Regions from separate parts of the Homo sapiens genome. Here all the other regions are linked to region 1. Evidence: promoter capture Hi-C in 16 types of primary human blood cells and fetal thymus (Javierre and others, 2016). All regions are on one chromosome and are shown on one strand. The core of a region is centred on a gene start or on the middle of the fragment in contact, and the rest is flanking DNA. Distances in the headings are between cores, read along the strand shown.

The links. Contacts are between HindIII fragments. The CHiCAGO score rates a contact against its expected background, and 5 or more counts as called.
Region 2: a contact is called between a fragment that was not itself captured here and the fragment with the promoter of C11orf71 in region 1, in 1 of 17 cell types (total B cells). The highest score is 5.5, in total B cells.
Region 3: a fragment that was not itself captured here is called in contact with the fragment with the promoter of C11orf71 in region 1 in 1 of 17 cell types (naive B cells); the score reaches 5.4 in naive B cells.
Region 4: a contact is called between a fragment that was not itself captured here and the fragment with the promoter of C11orf71 in region 1, in 1 of 17 cell types (naive CD4 T cells). The highest score is 5.1, in naive CD4 T cells.
Region 5: a contact is called between a fragment that was not itself captured here and the fragment with the promoter of C11orf71 in region 1, in 1 of 17 cell types (activated CD4 T cells). The highest score is 5.1, in activated CD4 T cells.
Region 6: a fragment that was not itself captured here is called in contact with the fragment with the promoter of C11orf71 in region 1 in 1 of 17 cell types (fetal thymus); the score reaches 5.2 in fetal thymus.
Region 7: a contact is called between a fragment that was not itself captured here and the fragment with the promoter of C11orf71 in region 1, in 2 of 17 cell types (naive CD8 T cells and activated CD4 T cells). The highest score is 5.1, in naive CD8 T cells.

What each region holds. Positions count from the first base shown.
Region 1 is chr11:114,398,959-114,403,042 of GRCh38, reverse strand. It overlaps C11orf71 (chromosome 11 open reading frame 71), which reads left to right and starts at 2,532. Exons shown (of 1, transcript NM_001271562.2): 1 at 2,532-4,084. The coding sequence starts at 2,712. The coding sequence ends at 3,083. It overlaps RBM7 (RNA binding motif protein 7), which reads right to left and starts at 2,377. Exons shown (of 5, transcript NM_001286045.2): 1 at 2,276-2,377; 2 at 1,183-1,345; 3 at 128-215. The coding sequence starts at 2,371. RefSeq lists enhancers at 2,205-2,747, 2,645-3,034, 2,748-3,290. The HindIII fragment of the contact is 8,162 bases long and covers 1-4,084 here.
Region 2 is chr11:113,889,014-113,893,097 of GRCh38, reverse strand. No RefSeq gene overlaps it. Among named protein-coding and RNA genes, the nearest start is that of HTR3B, 14 kb to the left of the region's middle. The HindIII fragment of the contact is 7,574 bases long and covers 1-4,084 here.
Region 3 is chr11:113,982,566-113,986,649 of GRCh38, reverse strand. HTR3A (5-hydroxytryptamine receptor 3A) reads right to left here. Exons shown (of 9, transcript NM_000869.6): 5 at 3,361-3,530; 6 at 475-635; 7 at 1-132. Among named protein-coding and RNA genes, the nearest start is that of HTR3A, 9.5 kb to the right of the region's middle. The HindIII fragment of the contact is 3,438 bases long and covers 439-3,876 here.
Region 4 is chr11:114,022,019-114,026,102 of GRCh38, reverse strand. No RefSeq gene overlaps it. Among named protein-coding and RNA genes, the nearest start is that of ZBTB16, 36 kb to the left of the region's middle. The HindIII fragment of the contact is 2,454 bases long and covers 746-3,199 here.
Region 5 is chr11:114,046,946-114,051,029 of GRCh38, reverse strand. No RefSeq gene overlaps it. Among named protein-coding and RNA genes, the nearest start is that of ZBTB16, 11 kb to the left of the region's middle. The HindIII fragment of the contact is 8,900 bases long and covers 1-4,084 here.
Region 6 is chr11:114,108,841-114,112,924 of GRCh38, reverse strand. The region is part of intron 2 of ZBTB16 (zinc finger and BTB domain containing 16); the gene reads right to left. Among named protein-coding and RNA genes, the nearest start is that of ZBTB16, 51 kb to the right of the region's middle. RefSeq lists a silencer at 1,492-1,692. The HindIII fragment of the contact is 960 bases long and covers 1,206-2,165 here.
Region 7 is chr11:114,135,458-114,139,541 of GRCh38, reverse strand. The region is part of intron 2 of ZBTB16 (zinc finger and BTB domain containing 16); the gene reads right to left. Among named protein-coding and RNA genes, the nearest start is that of ZBTB16, 78 kb to the right of the region's middle. The HindIII fragment of the contact is 5,674 bases long and covers 1-4,084 here.

The DNA of each region.
Region 1 (4,084 bases), core at 1,283-3,782:
GGCAAGTAATAACGGCAGAATGAAGAGATAAGAGAATAATGAAGGAGACTATTTACTCATGTGTTTTGAGGCTATTCCCTATAAGAATTCCTGATAAATGATCTTAACAATAAGTGAGAAATATTACCTGCTAGGAGATGTGGAGGTAGGGCTTGAATTTCCAACATGATGTTGGGGATATGACAAACTGACATCTTGTGGGGCATGACTACTTCCTAAAATGAAACAATTTGAAAAATTATTCTTGATAGAAAATCTAATTTGAAATTTTGTCTTCCCCACTTGAAATCACTCCAAAAAGGTAAACACAATCTAAAAGAGAAAAATCTCAAACTACTGGCCGGGCGCGGTGGCTGACGCCTGTAATCCCAGCACTTTGGGAGGCTGACGTGGGCACATCTCTCGAGGCCAGGAGTTCGAGACCAGCCTGACCAACATGGTGAAACCCCACCTCTACTAAAAATACAAAGAATTAGCCAGGCGTGGTGGCGTGCACCTGTAATCCCAGCTACTCAGGAGGCTAAGGCAGGAGAATCACTTGAACCTGGGAGGCAGAGGTTGCAGTGAGCTGAAATTGCACCACTGCACTCCAGCCTAGGCAACAGGGCAAGACTCCATCTCAAAAAAAAAAAAAAAAAAAAAAAAAAAAAAAAAAAAAAAGAATCTCAAGCTGCTGTAGACCGCTTTACGGCTTCATCGGGGTGAAAATTATAAGTGTATAATATCAGATAAGCAAAACAAAGCACTCCATAAATATCCAATCTGACCATAATTTTCTGATCTCCACCCTAAATTGTAACACTGGATACATGGACAGTTTCATCCTCACATGATCAAGAACCAAAATATATAAAAGTAATTACAAAGCAGCCAGGAGAAGTATTTTCAGAAAATAAACCTAGCTCTTTTCAGAGTACCCAAGCCCAGCTCTCTTAGTGATACAGTTTATGTTTTTTCACTAACCCAAAATGAAACTTTAAGCTCAGTTTTGAAATTCTAATTTCAAAATCCATGTGTCAATGTTACCCGTTTTCAGGGATATATAAAGTTTGCTATATAAAGTTTACTATTCACAATGCTTAAGAAAGAAGTTTCATCTACAAATAAGAGGTTCTTTAAAACTGAATAATAAATTTAAAAACAGCAGGAAACAATGCCCCCCGAACCTCATTGGGCAGTTACCTGATCTAAATTGAATTTTGATAGGCCTTCCATAAAGTTTGATTCCATTAAGTAGATTCATTGCATAAGGAACAGACACTTCATGTTTGAAATTCACAAACGCAAACTGCTTTGGTTTACCATCCTTATCTTTTGGAATTTTCACCTTTATTACTGGCCCAGCCTACAAACAAAAAGGTGTTTAGAATTTAAATAAAGCAACTAAGGGAAAATACTCAAATTTTACAAATAAGATATGACAAAGTTTAAAAACAACAGAAACGTAATCAGAAACTTCTTTTGAAAATGATGCACGGATTTCCATTTTGGCTACAGTAAACATCCTAGTTATGACTGAACATTAGATTTATTTGGGGAAGGGGGCCCATAAGGAACTGGAAACACAATCACTTTTGCAATTCACAGCACTGTATGGCTTAACATAGTGACCAATCGCCATTATTTTGCCACTCCATGAAAATGAACATTTATCAAGAACAAGAGAATGATTTTCTTTAACTAAAAACGGACTTTTGTATTGATTAATCAAACAATACCAGTTATTAGGGGATAGGGATGGGGGGAATAGGATACTCAGAATTTTTCACACTTTTTAATACAGCAACACTAAAATGCTGTTTTTCTACGGAGTACTTAACCATTTTATTTTACATATTTTAATAATGCTGCAATTTGATAAGCAAACTTTAGGGGAAAACAGACACAAATAAATTAAAATATTAAGTTCCCAGTCAGATAAACCAAAGACAAATTATCCTAAGGGGAAGATGACAACAGGAAGGATAAGAAAAAGCACTGCTCAACGAAGACCCTACACACACACTGTGTTCCCAAGGACCCCTGGATCTCTACCACGGGAAACCTGATCGAGGATCCCTCCACCACCTTTAGTCGTCACTTTCGGCCTAAACGAACCAAGATCTTCCAGGAAAGCGACACCCAGCGAGCGTTTCGCAACCCAGACCCGCCTTTCACCCCCAAACAGCCACCCGTCGGGTCCCCTGACGGCTACGAAAAGAAAACGGGGTGGCCGCTGGCCAGGCCCTAGGCGAGACGGAAAACGAAAGGCAAAGGGCCGAACCCAGCCGCTTACCTGGTGGAAAAGCTCGAAAAGGAGCTCCTCGGTCACTTTCGTTTCAAGGTTGCCCACAAAGAGAGTGCGATCCGCTTCCGCCGCCGCCGCCCCCATCTCAGCGTCGCCCCCTCCCTAACCTGGCCAAAAGGTCGTGGCCGACGCACCCACTGCGCATTCACGGAAGCCCCACGTCCTCACGCTCCCTGGCGTCACAAACGAAAACGCCCGTTGCGCTTGCTCTCAGCGGGCGACGACGTGCGCGGACGGTCTGCGCATGCTCGCCAGGATACCCCTCGTTAAAGGCAAGGCGGCTTCTGGCTCTTCCGCAGGCTCAGTTATGGGTTCCTGTGTGCTTAGTCATCGGGTCCGACACAGGCTGGACTGATCTGGGGAGCCGCGAAGGGCCTGCCTTCACAAAGGGACGTAACGCAAGTACTGCGGGCAGTGTTTGAATATGGCCCTGAACAATGTGTCCCTGTCCTCCGGTGATCAGAGGAGCAGGGTGGCCTACCGCTCTTCCCATGGCGACCTCAGACCGCGGGCGTCAGCGTTGGCGATGGTCTCCGGAGACGGCTTCCTCGTTTCCAGGCCTGAAGCGATTCATCTAGGACCTCGGCAGGCGGTGCGACCAAGCGTTCGGGCCGAGAGCCGTCGAGTGGATGGTGGCGGCCGGAGCCCAAGGGAACCAGATGGCCGGGGCCGGAGCCGCCAAGCCAGATTCTCACCTTACCCAATCCCTGCCGTTGAACCCGATCTCCTAAGAAGTGTGCTGCAACAGCGTTTGATTGCATTAGGAGGTGTTATCGCAGCTCGAATTTCAGTTTAAACGAACACCTTTCCTCTGGCCCTCACTTAGCTTGTGAACAGGCCTTTTTAAAATCCTTTCTTGGTGTAGCAGCAATCGTGTTGTTTTATTTTTAGATGGATGTATTTTCATTTAATACGTGGGAGTTATATGAATATGTCCTAGCACTAAGGGAAGTGTAACAGTTGATTGATTTAGGTGGTTTTATGCAGCCAGAACGATTGGATCAGGAAAGGTGTGGAAGGGATATTCTTAGGTCGTCACAAAGCTGAGCTGATGGGAGCACCCTCCCCAGAGGTCAACAATCCATTCGTTAACTCAGACACTTAACCTTTACCTTTACTTCTGTTGGCGAAAAAGAAGTGCTCCTTTTTATTACACTGATTTATCCTTCCATCTTTTCCTTGGCATTTACCATCTTCCATCTCCCCCTTCACTTTTTTCAGATATGTCTACAAACAGACTCCAATCTCAGTCGCACTAAAAATAAGAACAAAACCTAAACCTTACAGTTCTTTCAAATTATTAAATCAATTTATTATTCCTTTCTTTGGCAAAGGTTCCAAATTTTTACTTTATATTTGTAATTTTACTATTTGCATTCAGTCCCAGCGCATTAATCTGAATCTGCTGTCCTAAAATACACTGGTGAAAACATTACTTGTACAATCTCCTATCAGAAAACTGTTCATCTACTCACTGTAGTGCCCTCCTTGAAATGTGTGTTTGTTCATTCAACTAACAATATTTGGGGATCCCTGTAGTAAACACTGTATGAATTTTACACAGTCTGGCCATCAAGAAAGATCACGGAGTATATTCTAGATGGGGAGGCTACTAAGTGAATAGGAATCACCACGCTGGGCTGTTTATTAGGTACAGTAATAAACATAAGTACTGGTTGCAGTGACTTTTTTTTTTTTTTTTTCATCATAATACTGCACTATCCTGGTTCTTCTCTTACCTGGCTGATCACTCCTTATTTGCTGTTATTTTTGTTCTCTTAACCATACATTTCCCAA
Region 2 (4,084 bases), core at 884-3,383, 510 kb after region 1:
GCTAATTTTTGTATTTTTCGTAGAGATGGGGTTTCACCATGTTGGCCAGGCTAGTTTCCAACTCCTAACCTCAAGAGATCCTCCCACCTCAGCCTCCCAAAGTGCTGGGATTACAGACGATGCCATCACACCTGGCTAATTATGTGTTGTGTTGCTTTTTACTTTTTTTTTAGACGGAGTCTCGGTCTCTTACCCAGTTTGGAGTGCAGTGGTGCGATCTGGGCCCACTGCAACCTCCGCCTCTGGGATTCAAGTGATTCTCCTGCTTCAGCCTCCTGAGTACCTGGTTTCACAGGCATCCTTGGGATCATAACCATCACATCTGGCTAATTTTTGTATTTTTTAGTAGAGATAGGGTTTCGTCATGTTGGCCAGGCTGGTTTATTGCTTTTTTTTTTTTTTTAAAAGATGAACTCTCGCTCTGTCACCTAGGCTGGAGTGCAATGGCACGATCTCGGCTCACTGCAACCTCCCACTCCCAGGTTCAAGCGATTCTCCTGCCCCAGCCTCCCAAGTAGCTGGGATTACAGGTGTGTGCCACCACGCCTGGCTAATTTTTGTATTTTTGGTAGAGACGGGGTTTCACCATGTTGGTCAGGTTGGTCTCGAACTCCTGACCTCGTGAGCCACCGCACCCGGCATTGCTTTTTTCAAGTTAATATTTCTCCTCCTGGCCAGGTACGGTGGCTCACACCTGTAATCCCAGCACTTTGGGAGACTGAGGCAGGCGGGTCACTTGAGGTCAGGAATTCGATACCAGCCTGGCCAACATGGTGAAACCCCATCTCTACTAAAAATACAAAAATTAACCGGGCATGGTGGCGCCTGCCTGTAGTCCCAGCTACTTGGGAGGCTGAGGCGGGAGAATCACTTAAGCCCAGTAGGTGGAGGTTGCAGTGAGCCGAGATCGCACCACTATACTACAGCCTGGGCAACAGTGCAAGACTCCATCTCAAAGAAAGAAAAAAAATATTACGCCTCCTGGAAAAAGCTCTTTCCCCAAATATTTGTTGATGACTTTGCCATAATTTTACCAGAGTCACATGGTTCCTATCTTGACCACATATTTTAAGAATAAAATATGAAATTTTAAAATCTGAAGTCTAAGTTATACTGCTGTGATGTCTAAGCAAGTAATCTGCAAGCATGGCAGCACATGAGGCTCATCGAGTATTTTTAAATGACCTGGGTCCCATCTCTATAGATTCTGACATTATGGTATAAGATGGGACCCAGGGGCGGGCGCGGTGGCTCACGCCTGTAATCCCAGCACTTTGAGAGGCCAAAGTGGGCAGATCATGAGGTCAGGAGATCGAGACCATCCTGGCTAACACGTGAAACCCCATCTCTACTAAAAATACAAAAAAAATTAGCCGGGTGTGTTGGCTGTCGCCTGTAGTCCCAGCTACTCAGGAGGCTGAGGCAGGAGAATGGCATGAACCTGGGAGGCGGAGCTTGCAGTGAGCCGAGATCGCACCACAGCACTCCAGCCTGGGCGACAGAGCGAGACTCTGTTTCCAAAAAAAAAAAAAAAAAAAAAAAAAACAGTGGAATTGAGTGGGTATGGCTATTGAGTTGACTTGAACTCAGGAAAAAGATAAAGAAAAACAGAGAGCGATTAACCAACAATTAAAAGCTGAGTTTGGCTGGGTGTGGTGGCTCACACCTGTAATCCCAGCATTTTGGGAAGTCGAGGGGGGCGGATCACAAGGTCGGGGGATCCAGACCATCCTGGCCAGCATGGTGAAACCCTGTCTCTACTACAAATACAAAAAGTAGCTGAGCGTGGTGGTGTGTGCTTGTAATCCCAGCTACTTGAGAGGCTGAGGCAGGGAAATCACTTGAACCAGGAGGTGGAGGTTGCAGTGAGCTGAGATCGCGCCACTGCACTCCAGCCTGGCAACAAAGCAAGACTCTGTCTCAGAAAAAAAGTTAGACCGGGCGTGGTGGCTCACACCTGTAATCCCAGCACTGTGGGAGGCCAAGGTGGGCAGATCACTTGAGGTCAGGAGTTTGAAACCTGCCTGCCCAACATGGTGAAACCCAATCTCTACTAAAAATACAAAAATTAGCTGGGCGTGTTGGTGCAGGCCTGTAGTCCCAGCAACACAGGAGGCTGAGGCACGAGAATCACTTGAACCCGGGAGGTAGAGGCTGCAGTGAGCCGCACTCCAGCCTGGGTGACAGAACGAGACTCTGTCTCAAAAACAAAAAATGAAAAAACAAAAATTAGTCATGCGTGGTGGCACATGCCTGTAGTCCCTGCTCCTCGCGGGGCTGAGGCATGAGAATCACTTGAGCCTGGGAGGCAGAGGTTGGAGTGAGCCAAGATTGTACCACTGCACTCCAGCCTGGGCGACAGAATGAAACTCTGTCTCAAAAAAACAAAAACAAAAACAAACAAACAAAAAATTTCAATTATTTTGTGAGAACAAAGCTATTTTCTTTCTTTTTCTTTCTTTCTTCTTTTTTTTTTTTTCCTGAGACAGAGTCTCACTTTGTTGCTTAGGCTAGAGTGCAGTGGCTCGATCTTTGCTCACTACAACCTCTGTCTTCCAGGTTCAAGCAATTCTCCTGTCTCAGCCTCCTGAGTAGCTGGGATTGGAGGTGTGTGCCACCACGCCCAGCTAAATTTTGTATTTTTGGTAGAGACGGGGTTTCACCATGTTGGCCCAGCTGGTCTTGAACTCCTGACCTCGTGATCCGCCCCCCCTCGGCCTCCCAAAGTGCTGGGACTATAGGCTTGAGCCACTGTGCCTGGCCCAACAAAACTATTTTCAATCTGTCATTTAGAAAAGGGAAAATAAGCTCTTTATAGCTCAGTTAAAGATGAAGATGAGGTCTCAGCTGGACATGGTAGCGCATGCCTGTAATCCCAGCACTTACGTCAGGAGGCCAAGGCAGGAGGACTGCTTGAGGCCAGGAGTTCAAGACACAGATGAGGCATTATATCAATAAAGTGGCTTAGATTTTTAGGGTTTTTTTGTTTTTGTTTTTGTTTTTTTGACAGAGTTTCACTCTTGTTGCCCCGGGTGGAGTGCAACGGAGTGATCTCCACTCACTGCAACCTACACCTCCCGGGTTCAAGTGATTCTCCTGCCTCAGCCTCCTTAGTAGCTGGGATTACAGGCACACACCACCATGCCTGGCTAATTTTTGGGTTTTTAGTAGAGACAGGGTTTCGCCATGTTGGTCAGGGTTTCTCCATGTTGGCCAGACTGGTCTCAAACTCCTGACCTCAGGTGATCCATTCGCCTCGGCCTCCCAAAGTGCTGGGATTACAGGCGTGAGCCACCGTGCCTGGCCTAGATTTTTAGTTTTTATGAAAACCAACACAGAGACCCCCAACATCTTGCTATGGTTTGAATGTCCCCTCCAAAACTCAGGTTGAAATTTAATTGCCATTGTGATGGTAATGGCTGGGTGCAGTGGCTCACCCAGATGGGACAGGCTAGGTGCAGTGGCTCACATCTGTAATTCCAGTACTTTGGGAGGCCAAGGCAGGTGGGTCGCTTGAGCCCAGGAGTTCAAGACCAACCTGGGCAATATGGTGAACCCTATGTGTACAAAAAAATACAAAAAAAAATAGCTAGATGTAGTGGCACACACCTGTGGTCCCAGCCACTTGGGAGGCTGAGGTGGGAACCTCACTTGAGCCTGGCAGGCAGAGGTTGCAGTGAGATTGGGCCACTGCACTCCAGCCTGAGTGACAGTGATTAGGCCATGAGGGTTCTGCCCTTATGAATGGATTAATGGCATTTTCACAAGAGTGGGTTCCTGATAAAAAGCAAGGTAAGCCCCTCTTGTCCACTCTTGCTCTCATGTGAGCTCCTTTTAATTTTTGCCTTCTGCCATGAGATGACTCAGCAAGAAGACCCTCACAAAATGCCAACACCTCAACCTTGGACAAAAACTTCCAGAACTGTCAGAAATAAATTTCTTTTCTCTATAAGTAACCATGTCTGTGGCATTTCTGTTACAGCAACACAAATGGAATAAGACACCTGTGTACATGGGTAGAAAAGGCAAGAGATATGTCATAGCTTTTCTCATATGATACAAAAGTGTCATGTTTGTTAAACAA
Region 3 (4,084 bases), core at 908-3,407, 420 kb after region 1:
TGTAATCTTGAAAGAGACCCTCTCGCCACTGTTGGGGGGCAGGTAGAAGCCCACGATGTCCATGACCATGAGGAAGATGCTGGGCAGTAGCAGGCTGACCACATAGAAGAGGGGCCGCCGGCGGATGACCACCTGGGACCGGAGAAGAGCTTGTGGGAAGCCTGGGGCAAACAGGCTCTGCTCCCAGGAACCACCCCACAAGCTCAGATTCCTTGTTTTATGGGGCTTCCAGCCTGGATTGCTCAGAGAAGAAAACAGACAGACCCCCATACCCTGCCTCTCAATCCAGGCTTATGGCTGTTTAGAATAAGTAAGGGACATTCATGGAGTTTCTCCATCTACTTCACTGAAGTTCCAGATGTGTGCAACCCTGGGGTTGGAAAAAGGCTATAGAAGTTCTCCCAGTATGCCTCCTTAAGTCTACCTGGATGTGAAGCTTTATTCACCATTTTACCCACATTCACTCCCACTCACATAGAACTTCATTTCTGCATAGTAGTTACTGCTTTCCATGCTGAACTCCCGAAAGTAGGGCAGCACCCCCAGCAACTCCCACTCTCCCTGGTTCATGAAGACACTCCTGTCGGATTTCACCTTTTCTGGCAAGCGCCACAAAGAGATGTTGATGTCCTGGACTGAGAGAGAATAAAGCAAGCCAGCTTTGGAATCTAGTACCCAGAGCCTGCTGGACCCTGTGATGATGGGACACAGGTGGGCAGCAATTAAGGGGAGCTGATATCCGATGGCCCAACCTCAACCTCAGCACATCACCTTCAGCCTCAGTGTCCTCAGCTATAAAATAAGGTACTCACCATACCTATCTCACAGGGCCGCACTGAGGGCAGATGAAGTCCTAAATGAAAATGCACGGTGCAAAGAACCATGCAAACCATTCATTAGAAAGCGCTCTCTCTCCTTCACACACACACACACAAACACACACACACACACACCCCTTCCAAACAGCTTTCTAGCTTTCCCTGTTAGAATTGCCCATTGCAACAATGAACAAAAGTCAACATTCTTCACCTTTGCCTTGATGGAACTGCCTATCTTTAAAAGTGAATTAAGAAAATAAGCAAAATCCTCACTTATAGATTGTAATTCCACTTCTCAAGATCTGCAGCAGAGACATATGTACCAGGAACGACAGAAGTATCTATTGCAGCAAAATATTGGAAAATACTGAAATATCCATCAATCAGAAAATGCTTAATAAGCTAGGATGCAACCAAAATCATTAGATGTTTGCATTTGTGGTAGTGGTGAGCACAGCTGCCTTCCAAAATCATGAGCTATTTTATAGCAGCTAAAATTTTTGAGGAAGACCTAAATGTGCATGAACTCCAAAAAATGTCCAAGACCTAATGTTGGGTAAAAAGAATCAAGTAGTAGTATATAATAATATATATACTGATATATTCATCTAAAATACGAACTCGTAAAGCAATTTCCATGTAGTTTCCATAGATGTGTATGTGTGTATGTAAATGTGTAGAGAAGGATTTGGAAAAATATACTGTGCTAGATGAAGTTTCTACTGATAAAAGTGGTTAACTCCTGTTGTTGGTGAAGTTTGGGATTGAGGGTAGAAGTCAAAGCAGACGTTAGCCTTATCTGTAGTTCTGGTTTTGGTCAAGGCAGTCATGCATCACCGTCATAACTTAAGTTTAAGGTAATGAATACATCAGAACAGAAGTGGGGGATGCCTTTTTTTTTTCTTTTTTGAGACGGAGTCTCAGTCAGACTTGTCACCCAGGCTGGAGTGCAGTGGTGCAACCTCGGCTCACTGCAACCTCCACCCTCCGAGTTGAAGTGATTCTCCAGCCTCAGTCTCCTGAGTAGTTGGGATTACAGGCGCCTGCCACTGCACCTGGCTAATTTTTTGTATTTTTAATAGAGACGGGGTTTCACCATGTTGGCCAGGATGGTCTCAATCTCATGACCTCGTGATCCACCTGCCTACGCCTCCCAAAGTGCTGGGATTACAGGCGTGAGCCACCGCGCCCGGCCTGGGGGATGCCTTCTTGCAACAGGGTGGTGTGCATTTCACCAGCCCTCTGGCAAGCCCTTAGCTAGCATTCATCTGCTCGGTAACATTTGCTGAGACCCTTCCTCTGTGCCAGGCCCTGTGCTGGGGATCTAAAGGTGGGCGAGAAATCATGTCCCTGCCCTTTCCAAGTTTTTTTTACTTTTTATTTTTATAGGGTCTCATTATGTTGCTCAGACTGGCCTCAAACTCCTGGGCTGAAGCAATCCTCCTGCCTTGGCCTCCCAAACTGCTGGGACTACATTTGTGAGCCACTGCACCCGCCCCTTTCTAAGTTTATATCTAGGAGAGAAGGACACATTGAATAAGTACTTACAAGGGTGACAGAGGTGGGGAGAGGACCAGGATGCTATAAATTGGGCAACAGGGATGGCCTAGTCTAGGGGATGAGAGGGTAAACTGAGGAGCTGAAACTTATGCTGCCATCAGAAGGGTGAGTAGAGGGGTTGGCCAGGCTAGGTGTGGTTGGGGGGAGCAGCTGTGGGGCAAGTTGGGAGAGGGAGGAAAGGGCCAGGTAGCATAGGAGAGGAAACAACATGTGATAAAGGGAAAGAATATGAGGGTTTGGGGCTAGAAAGGAAGGCAGCTGGGTGGGAGCAGAGCTCAGAGGAGCAGATGAGCCTGGAGCAGCTGGCTGTGGCAGTCAGCTCAAGAGGGTGGATTGTGTTCCAGGGTATCTGGGATCCCATTGAGGGGTTTTAAGTGACACGGTCAGATTCGCATTTTACTAAAATCTCACTGGCTTCTGTGAGAATCGCAAATTTAGGGGGACACGAATGCATGGGGAAACCAGCTAGGAGGCTAAAGCAGAAACCTAGGCAGGAGACGAGGGTGGTTTGCATGGGGGTGAAGTGAAATAAATGGATCTGAGAGATGCTTAGTGCCAGATCCTGTTGGAGATATTGGAAAAAAATTGTCCCTTACTGAGCGTCTTGCCGTCAGTTCACACCCTCATTGAATACTGATATATTAATGTAAAATAAGAACTCATAAAGCAATTTCCATGTACTTTCCATAGATGTGTATGTGTGTATATATACGCACACATGAATGTGTGAATGTAAATGTGTAGAGAAGGATCTGGAAAAATATACTGTGCTATATGAAGTTTCTACTGATAAAAGTGTTTAACTCTTACTGTTGGGGCAGCAAGAGCAGCAGATCTACCTCATGCAGAGGATGAGGAAGCAGAGGCCCAGGGCATTAGTAGGCTGGATACGTGAGAAGGCGCCCTGGGGAGCACTCCTCGCTCAGGTGTCCCTGGGGTCCCCCAACCTCCACCCCTGTCCCGGCGAAGCCCACATACTCACTGGTGTGCAGCCAACTGGTGAAGGTCAGCGAGCAGTTCTGGACATCGAAGGGGAAGTTGTAGATGTCGAGGCTACAGGCAGTCACCACCTGAAGGGGCTTGTAGTTCTGAACTTCGCCTTGATGCCGAATATACACGTACGGGATATTTGGAGACTTCCCCACATCCACGCTGGCGGGGGAAAAGGGGTTAGTTTGGGAGCTCAAGAGACAGGGCAAGCTCTGGGTGCCTGAAGATCTTGGAACAACTGGGTAGGGAGTGAAGTTCGGGGAGGGTATAGGCAGCCGGATAACCTGGATGTTTTGCCTGGCCTCGGTTTTTCCAACCTTCCTATCTTAGGCTTCCTGACCTGCCGTTGTCAAGGCTAGTTTTCAAGCAGTCATGGGCATTTCTCCTTTATTCCCCTGGCTCCTGGCCACACAAGGCAGGGAGGAAAACCCATGGGCCCAAAAGCCATGGACAGTAGGAAGCGTGCCCAGTGGCCCCAACCCGTCACTGCCCTGGGCTGGGCAAAGCTTGGCTCCCAGGATCGCCAGTCCTGCGGGACCAGGCAGGCTTGGTGAAAGAGCAGGATCTTGTGTTCCATCCTGACTCTGGCTTCTCTTTGCTTCCCACCCCTGGAAGTCCTTTGAAATGAAAATAATCATCTCTGGATGAAAAGGAGCTAGAGAAATGGATAAGAATTGGGGAAAGCCAGAAAAGCCCCACAAGACCTCATTCCACTC
Region 4 (4,084 bases), core at 723-3,222, 380 kb after region 1:
AAGTGGGACTAGAAAGAAGGGAAGAGCTGACGGCTATTCAGGAAGTTTAATCAACAGAAATTTGTTGACTGATTAGATGTTCACGTGGGAGGAGAGCAGATTTTTGTGGGAAGGAGAGATGAAGGACAGAGACAGAAACTGAGAAAGGGAGATAGGCAGAGAGAAAGGGCAAAGAGAGACTAAAAGGATGATAGAAAGACAGATGGAATGACAACACCAAGAGAGAGATGGAAAAGGAGAGTTGACAAGACTCTTAGGGAGACTTTTAACTTATTTGGAACTAATTTTAGACTTACAGAAACATTGAAAAAATAGTACAGAGAATTCCCACATACTGTTCACCCAGCTTGCCCTGAAGTTGGCATCTTACATAACCATAACACAGTTATCAAAACCAGGACATTAACATTGGCACAATGCCATTACTCAAGCACAGACTTTATTCAGATCTCACCAGTTTTGTAGTGAGATGTGGAGAGTGAGAAACATAAATACAGAGAGCCAGACAGGGAGAACGAAGTTAGACACAAGTTCCCAAGTCCCTCCTCCTGGGAGAAAGTTTACAGAGTTGACACATCAGAGCCTGAGGGAACAGGCTAGCTGTTTAGCACGTGCCATATATTAGGTGCCTCATACATGGCTATTTAATAAATAAATGGAGTCAAGCGCTCTAGGCACAGAAGCAAAGGCATTGCAATGAGTGTCCACATACAACCAACCCACAGTTCTTTGTCTTTTCTAAGCTTCCATAGAATCCAGGATCTGGGGCTTACAGCAACAGACATTTCCAAAAGGCCTAATGCCAAGAGCATCTTCTGTTCAGTTCATCAGCTGAGCTTCGTTCTCCAGAGAGAGGTTCCTTTATTAAAGCCCTTTACTGAGCCTTTCCCCTTAAATGCCTTTCTTACAGCACAGTCATGGCCGCCAGGATCTCCACTGCCTCCCTTTGAATTTTATAATTTTTAAGAGCCTAGGGGGAAGTTGATCACTGTTCTACAGGAAGGGAAGGAAGACTTTTAACCCATCAGTGGGATCCTGAGCAATCTTGTCCCCTTAATTTAGGAACCAGGCAGCCTAGGGAGGGGTGAACTGTCAATCACCAGAAAGTTCATTGATTTGTCCCCTCCTGGGTCCATCCAGCATAGAGAGGAGCCATCCTCAGCAGACAGCAAGTGTGGAAATGGCAGTCTAACCAAGGCCCACCATGCCCTCTTCCCAGGCCAACTCCAAAAGCCTGTAAGACAGTCCATGGCCAAGCCAGCCTGCTTCCATAACAATGACACACTCAGAGTCTTCTTTAACAAGTCCCAGTTCTGCAGGTCTTTGTGGCATTAAGAGAAACACATCTGCCATTTTGTCCCCTCTTGACTTCCTTATTTTTACCCCTAGTTATTCAGCAGCCCCTGGGGTTTCTTGATGACCAACAGCAGCCCTTAAGTGGTAGTGTCAGAGGAAAGGTAATGCAAAACTTTCCCCAGCAGCAGATAGCAGGGCAAACCTGTGACGTGTCCCCAGCACCAAAGGACCCATGATTCTGGGTCAATCGAGATTGCCCTTGATGGAGCTCCTAGACCATATCAGAACAGATGCGTGTGTGTGTGTGTGTGTGTGTGTGTGTGTGTGTGTGTAGAATGGGGGAAGGGAAGGGACTGAGGACACCCCTTAGTTGAGGGATATCTAGATAAACTTGGATAAAGTTACATCTCACATACCTCCAGGCACCAGGAGTGGGCCCTGCAGGATACTTGCTTGTCCCAGCCCTTGAAGACCTTCCCCTGGCTCTCCCATACATTCAGAGATAACGCTGATCTTTCTCCCAACTGGTGGAGAGATGCACGGGAGCAACAGACAGAAAGAATCAAGGACCCAAAACCATTTTTTCAGGTTTTTCGTGTTACCTTATTTGACTCAACTCCCTAAATAATGGAGGAAATCACTCATTAGTCCACTTTTATCTTTTTCCCTAATAAGAAGGATAAGAAATAGCTAGCTTATACTGAAGCAGAAGGAACTCAGTTCAGCTATAGTGCCCAGCACAATGCCTGGCACATAGTAGGTGCTCAAAAATATATGCTAACTGAGGCCGGATGCAGTGGCTCACGCGTGTAATCCCAGCACTTTGGGAGGCCGAGGTGGGAGGATCACTTGAGGTCAGGAGTTCGAGACCAGCCCTGGCCAACATGGTGAAACCCTGTCTCTACTAAAAATACAAAAATTAGCCAGGCGTGGTGGCAGGCACCCGTAATCCCAGCTCCTCGGGAGGCTGAGGCAGGAGAACCGCTTGAATCCAGGAGGTAGAGGTTGCAGTGAGCCGAGATTGCGCCACTGCACTCCAGCCAGGTGACAGAGTGAGACTCCACCTCAAAAATAAAAAATAAATAAATAAATAAATAAATAAATAAAAGTAAAATATATGTTAACTGAACAAATGAACAAGTGGTGAATATAGGAGAATCCTTAGTAGCTTATTGTGGAAAGACCTTTGAAATCAGAACCAAGCTGATATTCTGGACCTGCTCCTTCTCGTGTGCCCACGGGTAAGTTGCTCGCCCTCCATCAGCCTCAGTTTTTCTCACTTGTAAACACAAAGATGAATAGCTTGCTCCTTCCTTGCTATGATGAGGATTGAACAGATAATAGGTGTGCTAAGCAGCATGCATAGCACAGTGCCTGGCATGAGGTAGATAATAAATAGTAGCTACTTTAATGGTTTTTTATGTAGTTAGAAGCACTCAAACTGAGAAGGTTCTGAAGAACATTAGCGAAGAGAGCAGACTTAGGGGTTGTTCGAGAGCAGTCCTGCCCCGAGGCAGAAGGATGGACGCTTGAGGTGAAGATCTGAGGCCCAAGCCTGCCTTGGGGTTCTAGGTTTCTGGGTTCCCATTGCCCGTGGGATGTAGTTGTCCCCTAATGACTGGGGAGAGCCAGGTGCTGAAGCATAAAATTAGCAGCCATGTCACCTGTCTTGTCCGTGTCTTCCAGGAGATTTGGGGGTCTGCAGCCCACCCATGTGCATGTGGCTACCCACCTCTCTCCTCCTCTCTTTCTCACAAAAGTCTAAAGATCCCCCAGGGCCACGCCCATGCCCCACAGTCATTCAGTTACCAGTGCATCTCCAGGTGAGAGACATGGGTTGTCTTTGGTGCCAGAACACACTTTTCCTCCCGGGCTACCAGCCTGTAATACTTTAGAGCAAGCTTGCCCGATCCACAGCCTATGGGCCGCATGTGGCCCAGGACAGCTTTGAACGCAGCCTGACACAAATTCGTAAACTTTCTTAAAACATTATGAGATTTTGGGAGGATTTTTTTTTGTTTTTAGCTTGTCAGCTATCATTAGCGTTAGTGTATTTTAGGTGTGGCCCAAGATAATTCTTCTTCTTCCAGTGTAATCAGGGAAGCCAAATATTGGACCCCTCTGCTTTAGAGGGAAGTGAGTGTGTTTTATTATTGCTGGCACTCTGCACACAGTAGGTGCCTAATCAACACTTGTTGATGGCACAGATGAGGAACAAGGGTGTTTCAACAAAAGGGCAGGCAAGATGAGGAGGCTGTGGCAGGCTGAGTTAGATACTGTGCTGTCTGGAAGCAGCAACATGGACAAGAAGCCTTTCTACCTGGTTACAAGTCCACAGCCACAGGGATTTCCACAAGTAGATGACCATTGGCACCAAAGTCAACTAAATAATTGTCTATGGCCATTTTAGGTTTACCAGTCACAACTTCGTCTTCTCACTCTCGCCTTCTGTCTTCTATTTTTTTTTTTTTTTAGACAGAGTCTCTGTCGCCCAGGCTGGAGTGTACTGCAACCCCCACTAAACTTCCCAGGTTCAAGCAATTCCCCTGCCTCAGCCTCATGAGTAGCTGGGATTCCAGGCGCACACCGCCATGCCCAGCTAAGTTTTGTATGTTTAGTAGAGACAGAGTTTTGCCATGTTGGCCAGGCTGGTCTCGAACTCCTGACCTCAAGCAATCCACCTGCCTTGGCCTCCCAAAGTGCTGGGATTACAGGCATGAGCCACTGCACCTGGCCACCTTCTCCTGTCTTCTTCTGATCTCTTACCTGGTTTTGTTTTGATTTCTTT
Region 5 (4,084 bases), core at 1,158-3,657, 350 kb after region 1:
TTGTATTTTTAGTAGAGATGGGGTTTTGCCATTTTAAAGAGGCTGGTCTTGAACTCCTGACCTCAGGTGATCCATCCACCTTGGCCTCCCAAAGTGCTGGGACTACAGGCGTGAGCCACCGTGCCCGGCCAATTTTAAATCTCTTTAAAAGAATGAAGCATGACCTGTGTTTCTTGGCTTCTAATTGCAGCTGAGCGCAGCTGTTTGTGGTCCTGTTCTCCCAGGCTCGTCTCGTTCATTCTGTTGGGAGTGAGGTGAGCAGGCAAATGGAGAGCGAGGCAGGGTGTGCAGGGGGTGGTGGTAATTTTCACCTCGTAGCATGACATGTTTATTAGTGTGTACGTACGTTAAGCGCAGCAGCCTGGTTTCCTTGAGTTAAATAGCAGTCATGCCCAACTGGCTCTCCATGTACCATTACTCCAAGTGATTGAGCCAATTTCTCCCTCTGCCATGAGTTTAAGTTGTAAACCTCTCAGCCAGACAGGGAGGCAATGATGGGCTGCCTGTTGTGATTATTATTAACCTTTAGCATTACACTTACAAGACCAGGGGGGTCTGTAGAGACGCCCAGGGTGACGCAGGCACAGACTACAGGCTCCCATCTACCCACCTCGGTTCAGCCTGCATCTCTTCTCGACAAGAAAGGCAAGCATGTGAGTGTTCACTTTGGCCATGCTGGGAGGCTCCAGCCTACCAATCTGGGGTGAGAGATGGCTTGTGCTGGGTGAATAGAGAAATGTTGGGTGTGCTCTGTTCCATTTGGGCAGAGGAAAAGAAAACACATGGCAGGAAAGCTGGAAAAGAGATTTCTTTCTTTCTTTTTTTTTTTTTTTCTTTTTTTGCCCAGGCTGGAGTGCAATGGCACGATCTCAGCTCACTGCAACCTCCACCTCCCGGGTTCAAGCGATTCTCCTGCCTCAGCCTCCGGAGTAGCTGGGATTACAGGCATCCACCACCACGCCTAGCTAAGTTTTTGTATTTTTAGTAGAGACAGGGTTTCACTATGTTGGCCAGGCTGATCTCAAACTGCTGACCTCACACAATCCACCCGCCTCGGCCTCCCAAAATGCTGGGATTACAGGCCTGAGCCACCGCACCCGGCTGGAAAAGAGATTTTCTAGGGGTGCCTGCATGTTCAGAAATCATTTGCCAGCCAGAATTTTTTCTCTTTGCCATATATTTGTCAGCCAGCTGCTAAGTTATCCAGGCAAAATTTGCAGGGACAGCAGCTACCCCCTAGCTGTTAGCTGGTTGACCAAGACCACATATATTTAGCATAATTATACCGGGAACTTGGAGTCACAGAGGGCTACACGGAAGGAGGAAGTGTTAAGGAAGCTGTCTATCCCAGATCCACCACTCTCCGTGACTTTCCCCCTTCCAGTCCGTATTTCTTTTATTTTCCTTCAAGGAACCAACCTTCTTCCCTGTTGATTAATCACGAATTGGCAGAGATGGCAGTTCCCTGAATGTGGGCAGCTTGTTTTGCTTTTCTGAACAGTTTGGTCTCTGAAAATCTCTGAGAAGAAAAAAAGTCCACCACCCAGCCCTAGGGTGCTTGTGTTGCTGCTTTGTTAAAAATCCGAGGGTACCTTTGGGCTGGCACTGGGGGAAATCTGCAGTCAAAAAATAATTCTGCCCTCAGGAAGGTTACTGTTTAATAAGCAAGGCTGGAATCAGGAAGGGCAGGTGGTGGGAGGCCTTGTGTTACTGTTGTTTCCCAAAATGAAAGAGGATGGGGGAGGGGGAGGTGTTTGGGAGGACAAGCACCACACAGAGCCTGCCTGGGTCAAAGGTAACAGAGTAACCATTGTCTGGCTGAGCAATTTCCTACAGTCTCTTGGAGGGGCCCCTGCCAGCAGCTTGATAAACTCCGTTGTTTATGTAGAATGAATATTGATTTGATAGGTATAAACAAATTTAAACCATACCTTCCATTTATCTTGGCCATGACATTTATTGAATACTGCTTATGAGGGAATAACCTATGGCTAACACAGGTTGAGGACTCACTCGGTGTCAGGCTCTGGCTCTTGACATGTGTCATCTCCTTTACTTATCCAAATAATCCCATGAGTTGTGGACTGTTGTCAAACCCATTTTACAGCTGAAGAAAATGAGACAGAGAGATAAAGCAGCCTTCCTGAGGCCACAAAGCTAAAGAGCAGCCAGCTCCCACAGACTCCATGCCTGGACTGCTTGTCCTTATACTTCCTCTTTGGATTAATTTCCATTCCTGATGGCAGAGGCATTTGGTCCTGCATCAAGAGAAGGGAAGGAGATGGGGCCGGGCTCATGGCTCACGCCTGTAATCTCAACACTTCAGGAGGCCAAGGCAGGCAGATCACTTGAGCTCCAGAGTTTGAGACTAGCCTGGGCAACATGGCAAAACCCTGTCTCTACAAAAAATATATATATATGTAAATTAGCCAGGCATAGTAGCGCGCCTGTAGTCCCAGCTACTTGGGAGGCTAAGGTGGGAGAATCAGTTGAGCCCAGGAGTTTGAGGTTGCAGTGAGCTACGATCACACCACTGTACTTCAGCCCTCTGTGACTCCAGGTTCCTGGTATAATTAAGCTAAATATACATGGTCCTGGTCAACTAGCTAACAACTAGAGGCTGGCCATTGCCCTGCAAATTTCTGCTGGATAACTTAGCGTCAGGCTGATAAATATATGGCAAAGAGAAAAAAAAAACTCTGGCTGATGAATTATTTCTGAATATGGAGATGCTCCTAGGTCTCTTTTCTGGCTTTCCTGCCATGCCCCTTCCTTTCCCCTACCAAATATAACAGAGGACACCCAACATTTCTCTCTTTGATTTTTTTTTTTTTTTTGACAGAGTCTCACTCTGTCGCCCAGACTGGAGTGCAGTGGCGTGATCTCGGCTCACTGCAGCCTCCACCTCCCAGGTTCAAGTGATTCTTCTTCCTCAGCCGCCCGAGTAGCTGGGACTACAGGCATGCACCACCATCCCTGGCTAATTTTTGTATTTTTAGTGGAGACAGGGTTTCACTATATTGGCCAGACTGATCTCAAACTCCTGACCTCAGGGGATCTGCCTGCCTCAGCCTCCCAAAGAGCTGGGATTACAGGCGTGAACCACCACGCCCAGCCTCTTTTTCTTTCCTCTAGGTTGAGGAGAGGAAATGGGGCGGTGGGTTAATATGAAAAATAGATAGACTGGTAAAGCTGTTATGTTCATTTCTAAATGAGTACTCACCAGGCACTCATGCCTATTCGTATACATTAGGTATAACTAGAAGACAAGGCAGTTCACTTTTCCGTAAGCATGCAAGAGTTTGCCCTCTTCAAAATAGTTGCCCTCTTCAAAATGCCAGATAGACTCTTAGAAGCAAAAGAGACTTGAAATATCAACTAGTCCTAAGGTGAGTGGTGGGACTCGACTCCAGAGGCGGGGCTCAGACACCAGACCAGATTGAGGGCTAGCTAAAACACAGACGGGCAGAAGCAGCTCTCCATAACACAGCCCACCTGTGTGCCATGTCAGTTTACCATTGCCATGGCAATACTTGGGAGTTACTGCCCCTTTCCTTGGCAATGAACTGCTGACCCAAAAGTTACTACCCCTTCCCTGGAAACTTCTGCATAAACCACCCCTAATCTGCATGTAATTAAAAGTAGGTATAAATATGACTGCAAAGCTGCCCTGAGCTGCTGCTCTCTGCCTATGGAGCGGCTCTGGTCTGCAGGAGCAGTCACAGAGCTTAGCACCACTGGAGCTGTAACACGGCTGCTTCAGTACAGCTGTTTTCTTCTACCTCAGCTTGCCCTTGAATTCTTTCCTGGATGAAACCAATGACCCTCATGGGCTAAGCCCCAGGTTGGAGTTCACCTGCCCTGCATCAGTCCAATCTCACCATTTTACAAGAGAGGAAGCAGAACAGAGAGGTGGCACAGCATTCCCAAAGCCATACGGCCAATGAGAGCCAGGACTTGGGACCAGAGCCAGTTTGGGGCCATCATGAGGATGTCATGGAAGCCATTCAGCCATTCTTGGAGATCTTTTGGTATTGCCTTCCAAGTACATAGCATTAATTTTTTTTAAAATCTTCAGTCATGG
Region 6 (4,084 bases), core at 436-2,935, 290 kb after region 1:
GGTATGGTAGTGCATTCCCTGTAGTCACAGCTACTTGGGAAACTGAGGAGGGAGGATCACTTGTGCCTGGAAGGTCGAGGCTACAGTGAGCTATATAATCAGGCCACTGCACTCCAGCCTGGGTGATAGTGCGAGACCCTGTCTTAAAAAAAAAAAAAAAAAAAGAAAATGAACTGTGTGAAAATAGAAATGGCTTTATGGAGCCTACATTTCAACTAGGTCTTAAAGACTGGGTAGAGCTATGAGAGAGAACAGTAGGACTGCCTTCTGGACAGGTAACTCTTAGGAAAGGTCTCCTCAAGTAGAGAAATCTTTATGGTTCAAGTACATGCCAAAAGGACAATATTTCCCTTAGACAGAAGGGGTGTTTTGACGACAGCCAACTTTTTTACAGGAAGAAAAATCAATCTTTTAACATCATTCATTCTCACCAGTCTTTCTCCTCTTCCTCATCCCTCCCTTCCTCATCTTCGTGCCCTCTCTATCCCTCCCTTGCTCTCCCTCTACCTTCTCCATCTCTCATTATCCAAATACTTTTCCAAAATTTAGATTATAAAATATGACCATCAGATGCTTTATAAAATCTACGCTACAGACATCATTGTGACATTTTTTAGTTAAATAAATAATAGAAATGTTCTGTGATGAAAGGAACCATAATCAAAACTGTAGGACAAATGATAGACTGGGAAGAATCTTTGCCATGCATTTGACAGATAAAAGATTCATTTTTCTGATTTATATCGAAAGAGAACCAACAAATGTGCAAGGAAAAGGCAAAAATCCGAAAGAAAATCATGCAAAAAGTTTTAAATTTTTGATGTAGTCAAATTTACACATCTTTTCCTCTATAACCTTTGGGTTTTATTTACAACCTTTTACATATCTATTATATTATTTACAATATACATCCCCCACAAAAAAATTGACAAATGGACACCAGAGAGAAATTCTTTCTTTATTGAAGTGCGTCTGGAAGCCTCAAAAAAAAAATGTTTAAAACAGACTTGGGGTAAAAGGGGAAGAGGAAGAATGTGTCTCAACAGTAGCCAACAAAAACATTCAAGATAAATAAATTCAGCATTCTGGCATCTGTGGACCCAGAAAAACTAGGTTGCAGATTAACTTAATTAGGAAAACCACCCACAACAAACCAATAGCACCAGGAGAGGGAGACGGAAAGAAGAGACTGAAAGAATGAAGCTTTGTCAAAACAGAGGTGTCAGAATCACAAGTAAAATAACTCCCAAAGGAACTCTCAGCCCTTCATAGGACATGGTGGTCTCTGCATCTCATTCATAATGTTTGCCTTGGCTGAGGTTCTAAACCACAAAAACATCTGTACAGAAGGAAGCAACCAATTTCAGTGAAATCATACTGGAAACCTTTAACATTATTTAGCGTCATTTCATGAGAGGACAATGCAGTTAATGTTCCCCACTGGAAGGACCGTCTTGTGGTTCGCAGCGCTAGGCAGTTTCTCTCTTTCTCTCTATTGGTTTAAATGTGAAAGAGAAAGAAAAGGGGGATTTCAGAAATGGAGGGAAGAAAGAAATAAACCATCTAAGGAGCACAGCCAATTATATAGGTTGGCTTTAATTTTCAAACTAGTGCTTAAATACCAATGGTATTATTGCCTTTAGCTCTCTGGAAACTACAGTGTAATTAGGTTCACTCAACTTAACTTAAAACATGCCCAGTCATTAAAATTTTTCTTGATCCAGCCAAGTTATCTCGCGCGTGCACACACACACACACACACACACACGCAGCACAGATCTCTAAGCCAAAAGTACATCACGTCCCCAAGAAACGGCAAAAACATGTCACTGCTTTTTGGAAATCATGCTCATGTTTTGTGACCTTCCTTAAAGATAATGTTCTCACGATTAATTAATTTATGAATAGTTTTCCCCCCAACATGCACAACAGGTTCCATGCAAATTCTTGAGCTTTTAAATTATACTGTTAATGAAAGCAAATAAAGGCAGTTAAAAGGCAATTTGCTCAATTGGTGTTAATATTTAAGCACAGCATGTGTAAAAACAAGATCACAGAATTCAGTTTTTACAAAGAAAACTTTAACCCAACTTCATTTCCAAAAGATTAAACATGTTGCCAAGAATATTTTCTCCCTCTACCCTTCAGCATCAGGTAATGAAGCTTTTTATTACGTAAATATTTCACATTAACCTCATCAGTTTCTATCACTTATAAATTCCAATCTATAAAATCAAATCAGCTTAATCATGTTTAGATTAGATCCTGCATCCTGAAGGCAAACTAAATTATTTACATCCTCACTCTCCTTGGCACATTCAAGCACCAAGACTTGAAGACATCAGAATAGAAAGGTTTCCTCTGCCTTCCTATTCCCGAGGTCTCACTGGCCCTCCTTCTTTAAATCTGCATCAGTGAAACCAACATAGCAGCCTTGGCATCGGCAAATTCTTCTAAACCAACCTCACGCAAAAGCCCTAAAAGTTTACTGGCTGGGCAAAGGCTTGGCCGTGGCTTTCCCTGGAGTATTTCTAGATTCCCCTACGAAAAAGAAAACTTCCCAGGTCAGATTAGTAACAGTAACTTCCCTGGTGACCCCAGATTGCTGCCTTGGGGGACTGTGCACAGGTTGCCACAGAAGACTGCTCTGTGACTGATCTTTGACCGTAGGGTCTGGCTGAAATGCTCCACATCTCCAAGAAAGTCTGAGCCCTTCATAGGGCTAGGAAAAGGGGGTGGGGGCACAGTGGAAAGGGTTCGCTTCTCCATGACATGAGGGGCTCCACCAAGAGCCCTAAATACCGCCCCCCAGCACACACATTTGCACCTAAGTCCCCCACATTCTTCACGCCCCTTCTCTGAGAGTCTAGTCCCCTCAAAATAGAATTTCAAAATGTTACAACGTTAAATAGATGTTGAAGGCCCTCAAAGGAGTTGAATTGTGGGCTCCTTCCAGAAGTCCTCCTGTGGCCCCCGTCTGCTCTATCCTCCGGTCCTGCTCTTCTAACATACTTCAGTTTCCCTTGCTGCTCTGCCCAGCTGTTCAGCCAAACCATGATTTCCTTCCTTTCCCTCAACATACCACACTGTCTGAGAGAACCAAGTTCCCTAAGAGAATCATTCCAGTTTGCACTGCACCAACTCCATGAAGCCAGTTTTCTGTCAGGACTGCTGGAAGGATGGCCCCCAGACAGCTCTCTCTGAGTTCAATCCCTAAATCTCTCCCCTCCCCCAACTCTTCCTTTCCTATCTCCCCCACCCCCAAGTTGCTCATCCCTCAAACCATTTCTATTTGATTAAGAGGATGGCCTCTGCAAGGATGTTTACATTAGGCTCACTTCCAGGCCATAACCCATCCTGCGGGAACACATTCCTGATCGGGGCAATGGAAGGAACTATGCAAAACATCTCGGCCTCATTGTGTACCCCAACTCCAGCCTTGGAGAACTCCACCAACCTCCAGGTCTCTCCAACAGTAAGGAGCAACAGGGCATGGCGGACAGAGCCTGGCTGCAAGAATCTGAGATGTGAGGAAAAGGCGCAGACATTTGTAGTCAAGCCAAAGACCTGACTAAGCCAAAGAAGATGTCACACCTCAAGGCACAATGACCCAACCTCACTCACCACAGACCAGCTATTATTTCTGGGGAACCAGCATTTTCTATAAGAGCAATAAAGTCAGATAATGCTAGGACAAAATTCCTGAGACAACTGCCACATTCAGATGGAGAGCTACTGAAAGGCCAAAGTGAAGTCCACTAGAAGAACAGACATCTGGAGGATGGGGCATGCCCCATGCTCCTCTCCTTCTTCCACCTGACTGACCCCAAAGCCTCCGCTCCTGCAGTGCCAGGTCTCAGCTCCATTAGGCCTGTTATGGATTAGGACACAGATCAGCCCCGTCCCCACTCCAAAAGTGGGACAGCCCCACTAGGGAAGCACACGCAGGAGGTAGGCAGAGCGGCAACTTAGTGAAGCTAGGACTGGCTGGGTACCCTTACCTGCCCATCAACACTGAGGCCAGCCTGTCCCAATAGCCACAAAGAAATCCAAGAAGGCATTAAGAGCTCAGGCCAAGCAATCG
Region 7 (4,084 bases), core at 747-3,246, 260 kb after region 1:
CTCTTAGAGATATTTGTTTAATATCTGAGCAGTGGGGGAGCAGATGAAGTATGCAAGTTTCATTTAGAAAATCGTCAAGAAACTATTATAGTAAAATGAGGCTTCCAGTTTCCAAATAAAGCTGAAATGATCACACGGAACAAACTGGCGAAGCCGGAGAGTGAAGAAGCAGGAAGGAAGTACAATAAAAATAATAACTGGAGGAAAACAGGAAGTCATGAGATGCCAGGGAATTAGCGGCAGCCCCCATCCCCTTCAGGACTGGGGATCAGTGTGAGCAATTGGCAATGGGAAAACCGCAAATCAAAAGCGACAGCCTGGAGAAGGGTCTCCTTCCATCTTCAGAAGTGTGGTCTCCATGCTCCAGCAATTCCTCTGTTCCTAGATGTCCATTTGCATCTCAAGACTTGCATTGTACAAATCCTCACAAAATCACTCTGGAGGAGAAAGAGACTGGCATCCATCTCTTACCTCTTTTTTTAGAAAACTGGGCTGAGAGAGCAGGTGAGACGCAGGAAATGAGTAAGGAGCCTTGTAAGAGGAAGGGAGTAGGCCAGGCACAGTGGCTCACGCCTGTAATCCCAGCGCTTTGGGAGGCAGAAGCGGGTGGATCACTTGAGGTCAGGAGTTCGAGACCAGCCTGGCCAACATGGTGAAACCCCATCTCTACTAAAAATACAAAAATTAGCTGGGCATGGTGGTGCATGCCTGTAATCCCAGCTACTCAGGAGGCTGAGGCAGGAAAATCTCTTGAACTCGGGAGACAGAGGTTGCAGTGATCCGAGATCGCACCACTGCACTCCAGCCTGGGCAACCGAGCAAGACTCTGTGTCAAATAAAAAATAAAAAATAATTTAAAAAAAAATTAAAAAAGAGGAAGGGAGAAAAGAGTGGTAGTTGACTCAAAACTCAACACAAACTTATTGCCTACTAAATGCAGGGCAGAGCATTAGCCACCACAGAGAGATTCAAAGAAACATAATACACAGGCAATGCCTTCAAGGAGCTTACAATTAAGTAGGGAATGCAAGACATATGTATGTAAAAGACTTTAAAACAGTGCACACTAATAATGTATGACAGGAATAAGGGAGATGCAAAACTTAGTGCTAGATGAAGAGGACTAAAAGTTTGGAATGTAGGCTCCAGGCAACCTAAGTAGAAAATAACCTCTTCTCTCCGTGAAGTTGATTGCCATCGGGGAACACCACAACCACCTCCAAAAACCTATGCCTCTGTCCTGCAGCTCTCACATCCTCTCCTGGCCTCCACTGCAAAATTCTACATCTACCAAGCTCGAAATATGAATAATATGAATGCTACCTGCTCCTCAGTCACATGGCCTGTTTTACTCTAAAATGGCAACCCCCGTAACTGTCATTTTGCATTAAACCCATGACTGGTCCTCCTGCCCTCCCTCACCACTTGCCTCTCTCTCCAGCTTGGGAACAGAGCCTGGCCGCTGGGGCTGCCAACAGGTCCCGTGCACCCTTTCATCCCACTCCATGACAGGCTCTGCCCCAAGGGCCCCACAGCCCACGCCTTGCTCCTTGCCTTCCTAAGAAGCTGCCAGCACAGCAACACCTGCCTGAGCGGTCCTCTCACCGATGCACAGCATGGGGCTGGCCACACTCATCACCAACATGCAGATGTGCACAGAGCAGTCAGGCAGCACCTTTCCCACCTCTGTCCTATTCCCTAGGGGAGGAAGGAGACTCCATCCAGGTCCCAGAAAGCCCCTTACTCCAGTGTGGACATTTCTCCATTGCCTTGCTACACTGTTTTCTCCAGAGAATCCATCCTATTCCCTCTGCCCAAAAAAAAGGGCATGGTCAACCTTAATGAAATAAACTGTAATAGAGTAGGCAGGTAACTTCATCTCCCTTCCAGAAGACACAATCTAATTCACACTCTAATTGTCTCGCTGGAAGCCTCCGGGCCTCTCTCCACAAGCGGGCTGGAAGGATTTGGAAGTGTCATGGCCTGGAACTCCTCAAGTCTAGTCATATAAATACTTAATTGCCACTGGAACATCCACATTGTGTCACTTTGGTATACCCAACCAGTGTGTGGCCAAGTTCCTTCTCTGGTGAGGCTGAGACACGGGAAGTGCCATTGGTGGCCTTTTCATCTTTCTCTTTCCACTTCCATTTCTTTCCCAAGACACTTCCATTTTGGAGAGCTCTTCCTCCTGAGAGCTAGGGAGAGGGCAGCGGTATGAGTGGGAAGACCAACGGCTTCTTTAACTGCTGTTGGCTGTGACCTTAATCACGACAATGAAGTTTAGTTTCTCTTTTGGTAGAGAGATGAGAATAGCAGACTTCAAATGGTAGAAAAGGGTCGGTCTCCTGAACAATGTACTCCAAAGGTCACTGCTGCATGCAGGAAACAAGAGAAGACACAGATGCAATGTCTGTTTCCATAATAGTTTAACCCTCTAAGAATCAGAGGGCTCAGAGAGCCTGGGAGGTCCCTGGGCCCTCTATGCATACAGGAATAAATGAATGTACTCAAGCATTCCAGACAGATCTCCCAGAATATTTTTAAAGACCTCCAGAAAAGAAATGCTATATAGAACCTGGGATCATTGTGGTGATCTTGGTGAGGCAGGAAAATGGGATAGGAAGTGTGAGTATAGGACATGTGACTAAGGAATGAGAGCTCAGTCATAAACCCCAGAGACAGCACGAGGTGACCTACAAGGGAGCTAATGCCCTGCAGTTAAAACTACACTTGAATCTTAAAAATAAAATGGAAGCCCCAAAGACAAAGTCATCCTCAGTAGAAATATTCTCAAGTTCTGTGACGAAGAGTAAAACCTCCCCCCAAAAAAACCCACCCCTTTTAGTAGGCAGTGATCTGCCCGATGATGACTTTCATTCATCTCTTGGTGGGGGCACACTGGAAAGCTCATCTCTGTAGCTACCACAACTCATCTACAGCCCTCAAACTGATAATAGAAGGTAAGAACCTCAGAACATTCCAAATGTTGCAATAGTAGGGGGAACAGCTCTCAGACTCTCACAAACTCTCTGTAAGATCTTGCATGAACCACTTATGCTCTCTAGGCCTCAGTTTCCCCATCTGTAAAATAAGATGCTCTTTCCTACTGACAGCCTGTGGACAGATCTGTGATCTATGAGCTCAAGAGTCCCTCCCTTATGTGCACAACATCTGGAGAGACTGAAGCCAGACTCTGTTTCCACAGTTGCTTTTGGGTGGCCCCCCATAGAGCACCCTCAGCCCCCAAACAGTGGGGGCTTTAACCTTTGCAAAATGCCGAGATAGTACTTGAAGGCTCATTTTTAACACTTCTAGGAGAATTCGCTTATTTTAAAAACTACACCCAGGTTGTTCACAAAAGGAAGACAAGTTACAAGAAGGACTCCAGCAAAGGAAGGTTGAGAAGGACATCAGCACCCCAGGCAACATTCCTGCTAGAGTCCAAGCCTAATGAATTCAATGGCATTCCATGCAACCCTCCTCCTTTACTCAGAGCCCTTGCCACGAGATTCCACACCGCAAAGGGAACTCACCGAAGAAAAGGAATCTCCCCCACAAGAAGGAAGTGAGGGGTACAGAGAAGATGTGGGAAAAAGGCAGATGTTCTTTCCTTTGAGCTGAATAGAAGCTAGGCTGAATAAGAGTCCATCCTCCCTGGCATTTCAGATAAAAAAGGACTTCTGCAAGTCACTTCCTGTTGCAAGAGCACCCGAGAACAGTAAAAGGATCAGCACTGGCTCCCATTTGCCCAAGGATGAGCCACTCAGATTTCTTCTGCCTCACTATATTAGTTCCCTTTTGTTGCCATAACAAATTACGATAAACTGAGTGGCTTAAAATGGCACAAATGTATCTTATAGTTCTGTAGGGAAGGAGTTCAAAATGGGTCTCGCTAGGCTAAAATCAAGGTGCTGGCAGGGCTTTGTGGCTTCTGGAGGGTCAAGGAGAGACTGTCCCCCTACCTTGTTCAGTGTCTAGAGGCTGCTCTCATTCCTGGGCCCATGGCTCACTCCTCCTCTGACTCTGACACTGACACTGACTCTTCTGCCTCCCTCTTCCACATTTAAAGACCGTTGAGGTT